Regions from separate parts of the Homo sapiens genome. Here all the other regions are linked to region 3. The links are contacts of gene promoters, found by promoter capture Hi-C in blood cells and fetal thymus (Javierre and others, 2016). All regions are on one chromosome and are shown on one strand. The core of a region is centred on a gene start or on the middle of the fragment in contact, and the rest is flanking DNA. Distances in the headings are between cores, read along the strand shown.

Region 1 (3,804 bases), core at 546-3,045, 190 kb after region 3:
CAGGGACCCAAAGGCCACCCTAGGTTGTTGGTTGCCATGGAGCTGAGGCTCTTCAAGAATGGCTTTCAATGGTCATTTTTCAGGCTTTGCTTGGCCCATAAGTTAGGGCTTGTGAGGTAATATCATTCTGCCTCTTTCTTCCATGTTTGGGCTTCCCCAGTTCCCACACACATGCGGGTTAGTTGGTAGAGATCAGATAACCCAGGGTCACAAGTTCTAGTTGAGATCCCAAATTCTTCAGAAAACTTCCGTAGGTTTTTTCTAGGTTTAGGAAAATTTTAAACTATGGCTCTGAGCTCTATTTTTATCCAGGGAATATAAGTCACTTGAGTATTATTTCCTGGAGTTTGGGGTGGTTTTCTCTTATAAGAAAACTGCTTAACTGTTTTCTTCTGAGAATATAGGCAATTCCGACAGAAAGTTAATAGATTGTGAATATTTAGGCAAAATAGGATAGAGAGGAGCAGTAGGGGTCATGTCAGTTTTACTGTCCTTGGTATGGGTGATGCCTTGCACTTTTAGCTTTTTATTAGCTCTTCACAGTGAATTTTTTAAAAAGCAATTTTAGAATCTTGTTGTCTCTTTGAGACTTCTGAATGCCTGTTAGAATAATAATCCCATTCTCCCTGCCTAATTCAAGGGGCTTGAGACTCAAGTGCACTTCTTAGATAACCAGTTTTGTGTTCACCTGGAACATTCCATATAACAGCCATTGTCATTCTGAATTATCTTTAGTAAGACTTTGCCACTTTTAAGAATATCTGCAGCTTCTGGGGCCATAATTCTTGTCCATGAAAAAGGCAGGCATATCAGAAGGCAGAGTACTAAGATCTTTAGAAATTAGAGATCCCATGTTTATGTTGGCTCTTGGGTATCTCAGAGCCACGATGACTTTTGCTCTGAGACCTCACCATTGAGAAGAGAAGAAATAAAGAGGATCCCTCCAGTAATAACCACTTACTGCCACTGTTATCAGTTACCTTAGAAATGACAGTTTTGTTGCCACAGTGACTCCTCAGTCACTGCAAACCGAAAGGTGGTGTGCCCTGCCACAGCACAAATTAACCTTGGTACTCCAAATGCCAAAAATATCAGAGAGCACTAATGCAAAAGAGAGCAGAACTTCTCAGGACTCCATGAGGAAGACAGGGACCTCCCCAAAAGGTAGAGCGAGCAGGGCCTTCCCTGTGCTCCTGCAGGGGTCTCAGGGTTGTCAGATCTCTCTCTTTCAGGTTCCTTCCTTGGTTGCCAGATCTGTCAAAAGAAGAAATTACAGCAAACTTAGTTTAAATACCTCAGTTGGCTTTATTTGCAATTCTAGAATTGGGCAATACTTTATTCCATAAAAAAGAATTAGTGTTCCAATGAGCTGAGCAGAGGAGGTTGGCTTTATAGGCAAAAAAAAAAAAAAGGGTGGGGGCGGCTGAGGAAAGCAGAAACAAACAGCAAAAAGCAGATTGGTCTTTTCAAAGTGACTTTCCTTATGAGACAAGGACAGGGAGATGGAACTTCGTTCGGGTTAAGGATTAAAACAGAGGGAACTTTATTATCATGCTGATTGAAGACTGAAGGTGGCCCATTTGGTGAATTAGGGCCTTGGCCCCCACAATGGCAACATTGTCTGTTTCAGTAGCAGCCTAACCCAATCTGTGATGATGGCAGATCAGTTACCTCGTAGAGGGTGGGAACTGGATTTACCACACATGGCATTCCATGTGCTTGAAAGAGATGCTTGTTTGAACAATAAAGTGCTACAAATGCCTTCCGATTATAAATGGTGCTGTGACATCCACCTTGTGGTGGAAGACAAGAGTCCCCATGCTCAAACAGCAAGCACGGCAGGGGCTGGTGTGGGAGAGACAGGCACATGGAAACACAGAGCTAATGTCTCCGCCTCCAGACACCTCCTGCTGCCTTGGTGACCCCATGGAGCCTGGATCCGATGCTCTCCCCATTCCTACCACCCATCCAGAGGAGGCGCTGCAACCTCCTCCCACCCCCTCCTCCCACTCTCCCAGAGATAAGAAGGAGATGGCCAACATGACCATGGCCACGCCTTCCTCGGAGTTCTACACACACAGACCAAAACGCCTATACACGTTCAGGGATTTGTTGACAGATTTGTTTTTACTGAACTAAAATTACACAATTCTCATCACTATGCAACTTTATTACTGCTCCACTTACTTTTTCAAGGGTGTCTTTGTCCATTTTGTATTACTGTAAAGGAATACCTGAGGCTGGGTAATTTATAAAGAAATCTCACAGTTCTGCAGGCTGTATAGGAAGCATGGAGCCAGCGTCTGCTTCCTGTGAGGGCTTCAGGCTGCCTCCACTCATGGTGGAAGAGGAAGAGGAGCCGGTGTGTGCAGAGATCATGTGGCGAGAGAGGAAGTAAAGGAGAGAGGTGCCAGGCTCTTCTTCACAATACGCTGTTGTAGAAACCAACAGAGTGAGAGTTCACTCATTACTGCAAGGATGACGGCACCAAGATACTCCTGAGGGACCTGCCCCCATGACGCAAACACCTCCCACTAGGCCCCACCTCCAACACTGGAGATAAAATTACAGCATGAGATTTGGAGGGGAAAATAGCCACACTATAGCAATGGGTATCCCTACAAACTTAGTAGATTTAGATCTAATTCTATCTTGCATTTCTAATTATTTCATCCATATGCATGTACTTGGGTAGGATGGATCATTCTCTTTTTTTAATTTAAAAATTTTATTTATTTTTAATTTTTTTAATTGACAAGTAAAAATTGTATGCATTTATCATGTTCAACATGATGATGTTTAGAAATATTTTAATAAGGTGTTTATTTTATTTGGCCTTCTCCTTTCTTCCTAGGAAGCCCATATTGGCTATGGTGGTGTGTAACCTTCCATAATTCTCTGCTTGAGTGCACATGTAGTAATGTGTATGGATACAGAATGTGTGCACATATCTAGGGTTTTCGTCAGTGTTTACTTCTAAAGATGGCATCATAGGGAAGGAAAAATAATTTTCTCCTTCACCCTTCATGAGTTCTTACCGGGACTTCTTGTAACAAAAGACAGATAACAAGAGAAACAAACAAAAGTTTAATCATATGTATCCTTCCTGTATATATGGGGGATAACCAGGGAGTTGAGCCAATCTCTTTTTTTTTTCCTTTTGAGATGGAGTTTCACTCTTGTTGCCCAGGCTGGAGTACGATCTTGGCTCACTGCAACCTCCGCTGCCTCCCAGATTCAAGTGATTCTCCTGCCTCAGCCTCCCAAGTAGCTGGGATTACAGGCATGGGCCACCACACCCAGCTAATTTTTTGTATTTTTAGTAGAGATGGGGTTTCTCCATGTTGGTCAGGCTGGTCTCAAACTCCCGACCACAGGTGATCTGCCCACCTTGGCCTCCCAAAGTGCTGGGATTACAGGTATGAGCCACCTTGCCCAGCCGAGTCAGTCTCTTTAGTAGATCTCAAAGAGTGGTCTTAGACTTCAGGTTTAAATACCAACTTTTTCTGAAACCAAGAAGGATGGGTGTGGGGAAAGACTTGGTTAAAATGAGATGGCCCAGGAAAATCACTGGAAAACCAGAGGTTAGGTTTGTTACACAGATTGAAGTTGGTGCCTTCTGCCTTGACTGAGTCTCTGGTGATTTAGTCACTCTTCTTTTCCTGGTGCAGAGAGGCAGACACCTTTACAAATGGAGATTTCCTTTATAGATTTAAATTTCCCTTGCAAAAGGGTAACTTCTATGGTGTTTTTCAAAGCTTTCCCTGTGCCTGCAGTTTCTTGAAATAGCCAGCTCAAAATAAA
Region 2 (3,648 bases), core at 2-2,501, 180 kb before region 3:
AAGCCCTACTAAGTTAAAATTTTAAAAAGCTTAATTTTCATATACTTTCTCTATTACTTCCTTTCCTTTCCTTATTCTGTTATAGCTCCCTTGTTATTAATGTAACTAAATCTAACTCACCTCAAACCATTGCCTTTAATGCTTGCTCTATCATACCTTGTAAAAATATTAAAAAATCAATGACAGCTAGCCTTTTCACACAAATATTTATGTCCTGGCCCTCTAATTAACACAATTACCCCTAACACTTATTGTTATAATCACCTGCAGCCAAAACGCCAATTTTCTGCTCCTACTGAGAGGTGAAGCCAGCTGGACTTCCTGGGTTGAGTGGGGACTTGGAGAACTTTTCTGTCTTACAAGAGGATTGTAAAATGCACCAATCAGCACTCTGTAGCTAGGACTGTAAAACACACCAATCAGTGCTCTGTAAAACGCACCAATCAGCAGAATCCTAAAAGTAGCCAGTGACAGGGAAGATTGAAAAAAGGACATTCTGATAGGACAGAAATGGAACATGGGAGGGGCCAATAAGGGAATAAAAGCTTGCCACCCCCGCCCCCCAGCCAGCAGCGGCAGCAACCTGCTCGGGTCCTGTTCCATGGTTTAGAACCTTTGTTCTTTCTCTCTCCACAATAAATCTTGCTGCTGCTCACTCTTTGGGTCCGTGCCACACTTAAGAGGTGTAACACGCGACTTCATTCTTGAAGTCAGTGAGACCACAAAGCCACTGGAAGGAACCAACTCCGGATACACTACAGCCTAACAACCTTATAATAAATGGAACGACGTCCTTTAAATTACTCAAGAGCAAAGTTAAACTTCCACACACACACAAAAAAAACATACAGATCTAAAACCCTTCATCTATTTCATTAAAAAACCTACCCAACCTTCTCAATATAACCCTGTCCTTCTGTCACCACCTCCACCTTAACTAACTCTAAACCTACCCTTAATCACTTCTATAATATAGAAATTTGACATAAATTTTTAAAAACCCTAAATATTTTTAAAATACACATTATTCCCCCATCTTCCCCTTCTTCAGTAGCCTAAGTTCTAAATCCGACACCAGTTACTCCTGCATCTAATAAAAGTAGAATGCCTATTATAAAAATAAAAAATTAAAGACAGACCTTAGCCATCAAAACAATACATCAAAATACAAATGCCTAGCTAAAATATTCCATTCACACTTTAAAAACAATTATTACACTATTACATTTGTACACATGGTACTCCAGAGGCCCAAATTATCCCCTTTCCACTTAAATGGTCACCTCATCAACCAAATATAAACTATATAGTAGCTCTTTTTCAAAATCCCACTGCTTAAAATAATCCATCATGCCAAGCTCTCTCTGCTATTTCCTAAAATTTAACACTGTGCGGGTCAGCCCCTGAGGACAATCCAGCTTGCACCTTTTCTAAATGCCAAACTTACACTGTGCCTCTCATGGCAAGAAAAAAATTTAATATTCCTTAAAAGCATTTAAAAAATGCTTTTTCCAAAAGCTCGCCCATCAATCCATGCTTAGCCATCCCCAAGCAAATATATGGTAGTACTGTAAAGGACCTTTACTAAACGCTGTGCCAAATATTTGAAACAGTACTAATCCAGTTAGCTGTCCTTCACTCTAGCATTTCATCAATCTAAAAAAATAAAAACAAAACACCGCAGGCCAAAAAAAATTCCTTGTAAGTCCTTTAATCCTCAAGTTTATATAAATGCTATTAAAATCCTGTAAAAAAAATTTCAAATAAATTTAAAATACAAAATCAAATAGCTGCAAAATTTAAGTCCACGTTATTCTGGTAAGTATGAATTTAAAAAATGTAAACTAAACTGTATCTGTTACAATCAGCAACAATTCATAAATTACACTGAAAACGCCATCAAAAAAATAGCTAAGCAATTAGGACCTACCAGACAAATTGCCTTAAAAAAAGCTTTAAATATAATATCAGCAAAAAAAAAAAGTCATAATTAAAACTCAATATTGTACCTTTATTCCTAATACTGCCCCTAACAAAACTATAACAAAAGCACTACAAAAATTAACAGCACTATCCAATAAACTTGCCAAAAATTCTAAAATAAATAACCCTTTTTCTAAAATAATAAAACATTAATTCGATAAGTAAAAAAAAAAATTGTGGCCAGGCATGGTGGCTCACGTCTGTAATCCCAGCACTTTGGGAGGCCGAGGCAGGTGGATCACGAGGTCAGGAGATCAAGACCATCCTGGCTAACACGTCTCTACTAAAAATACAAAAAATTAGCCGGGCGTGGTGGCGGGCGCCTGTAGTCCCAGCTACCAGGGAGGCTGAGGCAGGAGAATGGCGTGAACCCGGGAGGTGGAGCTTGCAGTGAGCCGAGATCATGCCACTGCACTCCAGCCTGGGCGACAGAGTGAGACTCCACCTCAAAAAAAAAAAAAAAAAAATTAACTTCAATTCTCACCTTGTTCGCTCTTATTAATATACTTATAAGCTATTATGTTATTCCCTGCCTTCAAAATTTTATACAAAAACTTATCTCTACCACTCTTACAAAGTTAACTCCTAACTCTCCTCCACCCTATTCGAAAAATTACTTCTCTTAAAGCTATTAAAACAGACAAATTAAAAAAAAATTATAAGAGGGAGAATTGTAAAAAGTAAAATAGAGTTTTCTCTTCAAAGCCTTTCCTCCCCATCTAATTAAAAATAAATAGTAACTTCTCTTAGAAGCAAAATTTATTCAAAGACCTGTGCTAAGATTCTTAAATATCTGCTAGCCATAATAAAAAAATCAGTATACTTTATATTCTTAGCTCCCACAATTTAGCCTAAATATTTGCCCTAGCATACTTATACTAGTCCAAGAAAGCAGTAAGTCACATCCTGTTCCTCTTCCTTATTTAAAAGTATTTTTACCTTTCTCAACATTCCTTCCTTTATTCTCCTCTGCGTTTGCCTCTTTTAAAAAATTCAAAGTTACTAACCAATCAAAACAAATACAAAATGTAAAATCCCATTCCACCCAATAAAAACTGGACACAGCAATAAGGTGGACATGTCAGGTTATAAATAACCTTATCTCCTTTATTCAATATACTCTCATAACAAAACTGCGAGCAAGTATACCCTTTCTACAAAAAATATAAAAATAGCCTTACTAAAAAAATTTATATTCAAGTGCTATTTCTTTACACCACCAGAAAACAAACATTTCAAGCAGGTTGCATTGAGCTGAGATAACGCCACTGCACTCCAGGCTGGGTAACAAAGCAAGACTCTGTCTCAAAAAAAAAAAGGTAAATTGAGTCATAAGAAAAAGAAAAAACATGGGTAGTATGTAACCAAAATTCCACAGGTGATGGTAATGCATTCCCTAGGATTCACACCCTGCATTCTGGAAGTCCCAGGTGGCTGGGAACTGTGCCCATGAACCCATGAAGCTCTTTCCCCAGGCCATGCCAGGGGCCACATTTGCCAGCCCTGGCCCCACCTGCTGCCGTCAGCTAATTCTGAGCATTCCTCAAACACTCAGGAACAAGTCTGAGAGCCACCTCTGGGGAGTCTTGGCTGGTGCTGTCATCTCAGCTGGCAGGCACTGCAGGTGCAGCCGAGGCTCCATAACGCTGTGAGCTCTGGCTGTCC
Region 3 (3,615 bases), core at 25-2,524:
TCCCGGCCGGGAGGGGTCCCCGCCCCCAGCCCAGATGACTATATCCGCCCCCGCGGCCCCACCCGAGCGCGCCCGGGGAGGGGGCGTGCCCGGCGGGGGCGCGGTCGCCTGGCGGGCGCCGGCTCCGAGAGCCAAGACCCGCCTCGCGCGACGCGCGGGGCCAGCCGCGGGTCGGAGCGGCAGGGGAAGGGGCGAGGCCCCGGGCGTTCCGGCCCGCCCGGCCCCCACCTCGCGCCCCATCGGGGACTCCGGGGGCGTGGTCGGGCAGCTCGCGCCGACCCCGTCCGCGCGATCCGGGCGCCCGCGCCGCCCCACTGACCTGTGTGAGTTCTCAGGTGCGCCTTGAGGTGCGAAGATTTCCCGTAAACTTTCTCGCAGCCCGCGTAGTGGCACTTGTGCTTCCTCTGCGGGGACTCGAGGTCGGCGCGACTTCGGCCCCGCCGGACCCTTTGTCTGAGGCCGGGCTCGCCGCTCCCCGCGGGCCCCGGCTCCCGCTCGGGCTCCAGCCCCGCCTCGGGCTCCGGCTCGCTCCACGCCGGGCTGGGGGGCGCGGCCGCCGCGCCTTCGGCGCCGGGGGAGGTGGGCTCGGGGGCGGGCGGCGGCAGGCGGCAGGGGGTCCTCGCCTTCCGGGCCGCGGCGCCCTCCCTGCGCTCCGCCGGGGCGGGCGCCGGCGCTTGCTGGTTGAGGTCCGCTAGGATCCGCGCCACCACGAAGAGCGAGGCGCTGTCCTTACCGTCGCGGCGCTCCTCGACGCGGGGCAGCGTGGGGGTGGCGGCCACGGCCGCGCCCTCGGGCCGGGACTCCGGCCCCTCCCGCGGCCCGTGCACGACCGCGCGGCTCGACATGGACACGAGGCACTCGGCGGCGAAGTGGTCCACATAGGCGGCGGCTGCCATGCTGCGGGCTGGGGCCGGCGGCGGTGCTCTTGCTGCGAGTCGTCAGCCGCGCATCCGCACCCACGGCCTCGGGAGAGCGGGCGGGGGGCGGGGGCGCGGCGCGCCCTCTCCTCGGGCTGGGCTGGGCTGGGCTGGGCGCGCAGCCGCCTGTGCCGTCACCCGCGCGGCTCCGCGTCTGCGAGGCGCCGGCCCGGCCGGGCACCGAAGAGTGAGCGCATGGGGCGCGCGGGCGACTGGGGTCCCCGCGCGGCGTCAGGGGCGGCCGGTTCTAAGGATGCCGAGCGGCAACGTTAGGGACCACCTCGCCAAGTCGCGGCCGCAGCTTCGCCGCGCATTGTGGCAGGCGGGACAGCTGCCGTGCGCGCCGCGGCTCCGTGTGGGCGGCCCGGCCCCGGGGGTGGGCGGGGCCGGGGCCACATCTGGACCCGACGTCAGCCCCCAGCCACATCCTGGCGGCGCAGGTTACAGGCGGCGGCGGCTGCGGGGAGCTGCGCGCGCGGAGGGGGCGGGGACCCCAGAGCGCGCACCGGCGGAACGGAGCGGTCGCGTGCCCGCGCCTGGGCAAGGGGGCGTGACCGAGGGCCGGGACAGACGCCATTGGTCCGTGAGTGCACGGCCAGGCCAATCCGAGCCGTTAGAGGGGCGTGCCCGGTCCCGGGCCCTGCGCGCGCCAGTGGGCGTGTCCCCTGGGCCGGTGGGAGGAGGGGCGGAAACTGGAGCGGGGCGCGCTGACGCATGACGTCCGGGGGCGGCGGGCCGGGTAGTCGCGGCGCGGAGCGGCTGCTTGTACCCCCCGCGGCGGGGACACAGCGAGCACTTCTCTGCCGGAGCTTTTATGTGGTGACAGCCTTGGCCCCCGGCATGGAGGGGAGCGGTTTCTGGAGGGCGCCATTTGTTCCTCCCGCGATGGGCGCCGGCGGGGAGGCGTGTCTGCCCGGCCGGGCGCGGGGCTGCCTAGGGGCGGAACGCACTCGCGCCGCGCCCTCCGCCGCCGGCTTGCCGGGTGGCCGCGCCTAGAGCCTCAGGCCGCTCGCCCTCCCCACGCCCCTGCCTTGCAGAGCTCCGGGAGTCCGGGCGGGGCAGCTCCCGCGGGAGGGACAGACTCGGGCTCGTTCCTGGGGTCCGGGGTGCGGCCGCGCTGCCCTTCAGCTCGGGTCAGCCCGAGCAGGACTGGCCTCGGCTGGCGGTGAGCCTGGCAGCCCGGGTGGCGCGCCCACCGCGGCCTGTGCCTCCAGAAGCGAACTACGTGCCAGGGCGGCCGGCGCCGCTGCTGAGGGAACGCGGGGCCCCTTCCTCCCCATCCCGCCGCAGGCCCGCTGCCAACTCTTCTAGGCTGCCCCTCTCCCACCGCGGTCGGGGGGGCTTCAAACGCCACCAGCTGCGAGGACCCCGCCCACCGCGCCCCACCCGCCCGCTGTCTGGGCCTCCCGGAGGAAATGCTCGGCTGCGCCCAGCCCGCGCCTCCCAGCCCGGGCTGGGCCACCTTGCCCTTGACTCTCACGGTAACCCCTACCCCAGCCCGCGGCCCCAGCCATTCTCCAGGCCTGGGCCGTCCTCGGAGACGCCGGTGAATAACTTCCCACCGCCGCGGAACCGGGCTCAGCAAACCCCCTACTGCCTCGCCCCGTTGCATTGTGCTTAATGGACGTTCGAAGGAGTCAGCCACCCTTGCTGTGTTCTGAGAGGAGCCTGGAGAATGAAGGAGCCCGGGCACTCACCCTCAGTGGACCCTCGCAGTGGGAGGGGGGTGTCATTCTTCTCTCAGAATTAAGGTTAATAGCCGAGTTCGAGTTCTCACCAAATTAATTTGGGGTTGGAGCTCAGTAAGACTGGTTTTCAGGTAACCGACGAGGGACCGAAACGGCCATTCTGGGTTGCGTGTTACGGTGAACAGCAAACTGCATGGATGTTTGAGCACCCTCAGTATCTGTAACTAAAACCCTGAAATGCGGTCTCGCTGATTGAGTTGCTACCCTCTGGGGAGACTAAAGGTGCTGGACTGGGTCTGGTCCCTTTAGGAGGGTCTGTGCTTGGTAGAAAGTAATCGTGTTTCTTCCAGGCAGATTGTGTTGATGACATTTAATAAGAGACGTGTGTCCTGACCAAGTAATGATTCGGAATGTTCCTCTATTCCCACCACATGTCACAATTAGTCACTTCTTAAGGAAGGAGTGGTCCTACACCAGCTTATCAGCCACCCATACCCTCCTGGCCCCTTTCCAGCCAGCAGAATTCTCCCCAATCTTCAAGGTGCCACGTCTCCCCACTGGGTCACCCCAGCCGGCATACACAATGGTAGGCCGTCTAGAGTCTGCACTATTCTAGTATTAGGCTACTACAGCCATGAACAAAACAGGCCTGCCTTGGGTGAGGGGATGCCCTACGTGGTCAAGGGTCCTCTGCATTGATGCACCCCCCTAAGAGTTTTCCAAGAATGTGGGTCCCAAAGAATTTTGACTGTGCTCTGTGGCATTCTGTATAGAAAACTGAGCTCCTTGGCTGGTTTCTCAAAAATCCACTCATTTGATGATTGTCGTGGTGTTCACTGACTTTATCCCAAACCTACATGGAAGGGTCTTCCGGACAGACAGCTCTTCCCCAAAGAAAATCTCCTCTTAGCTAAGAGTCCATGTTTTCTTTTCTAAGTAAGATTTTGACAGAGATGGCATATGTATATGTGAGGGCTGGGTCGTCTCGTTTCAAATGGAAGCAACAGAAA

What was found. Contacts are between HindIII fragments. The CHiCAGO score rates a contact against its expected background, and 5 or more counts as called.
Region 1: a contact is called between a fragment that was not itself captured here and the fragment with the promoter of KLF13 in region 3, in 1 of 17 cell types (M2 macrophages). The highest score is 6.3, in M2 macrophages.
Region 2: a contact is called between a fragment that was not itself captured here and the fragment with the promoter of KLF13 in region 3, in 1 of 17 cell types (total CD8 T cells). The highest score is 5.5, in total CD8 T cells.

What each region holds. Positions count from the first base shown.
Region 1 is chr15:31,134,357-31,138,160 of GRCh38, reverse strand. It overlaps a transcript of TRPM1 not described here. Among named protein-coding and RNA genes, the nearest start is that of TRPM1, 35 kb to the right of the region's middle. The HindIII fragment of the contact is 3,931 bases long and covers 1-3,760 here.
Region 2 is chr15:31,504,551-31,508,198 of GRCh38, reverse strand. All of the region lies in intron 8 of OTUD7A (OTU deubiquitinase 7A), which reads left to right. Among named protein-coding and RNA genes, the nearest start is that of KLF13, 180 kb to the right of the region's middle. The HindIII fragment of the contact is 1,408 bases long and covers 548-1,955 here.
Region 3 is chr15:31,324,494-31,328,108 of GRCh38, reverse strand. KLF13 (KLF transcription factor 13) reads right to left here and starts at 1,274. Exons shown (of 2, transcript NM_015995.4): 1 at 320-1,274. The coding sequence starts at 896. RefSeq lists an enhancer at 1,552-2,065 and a promoter at 1,093-2,149. The HindIII fragment of the contact is 12,301 bases long and covers 1-3,615 here.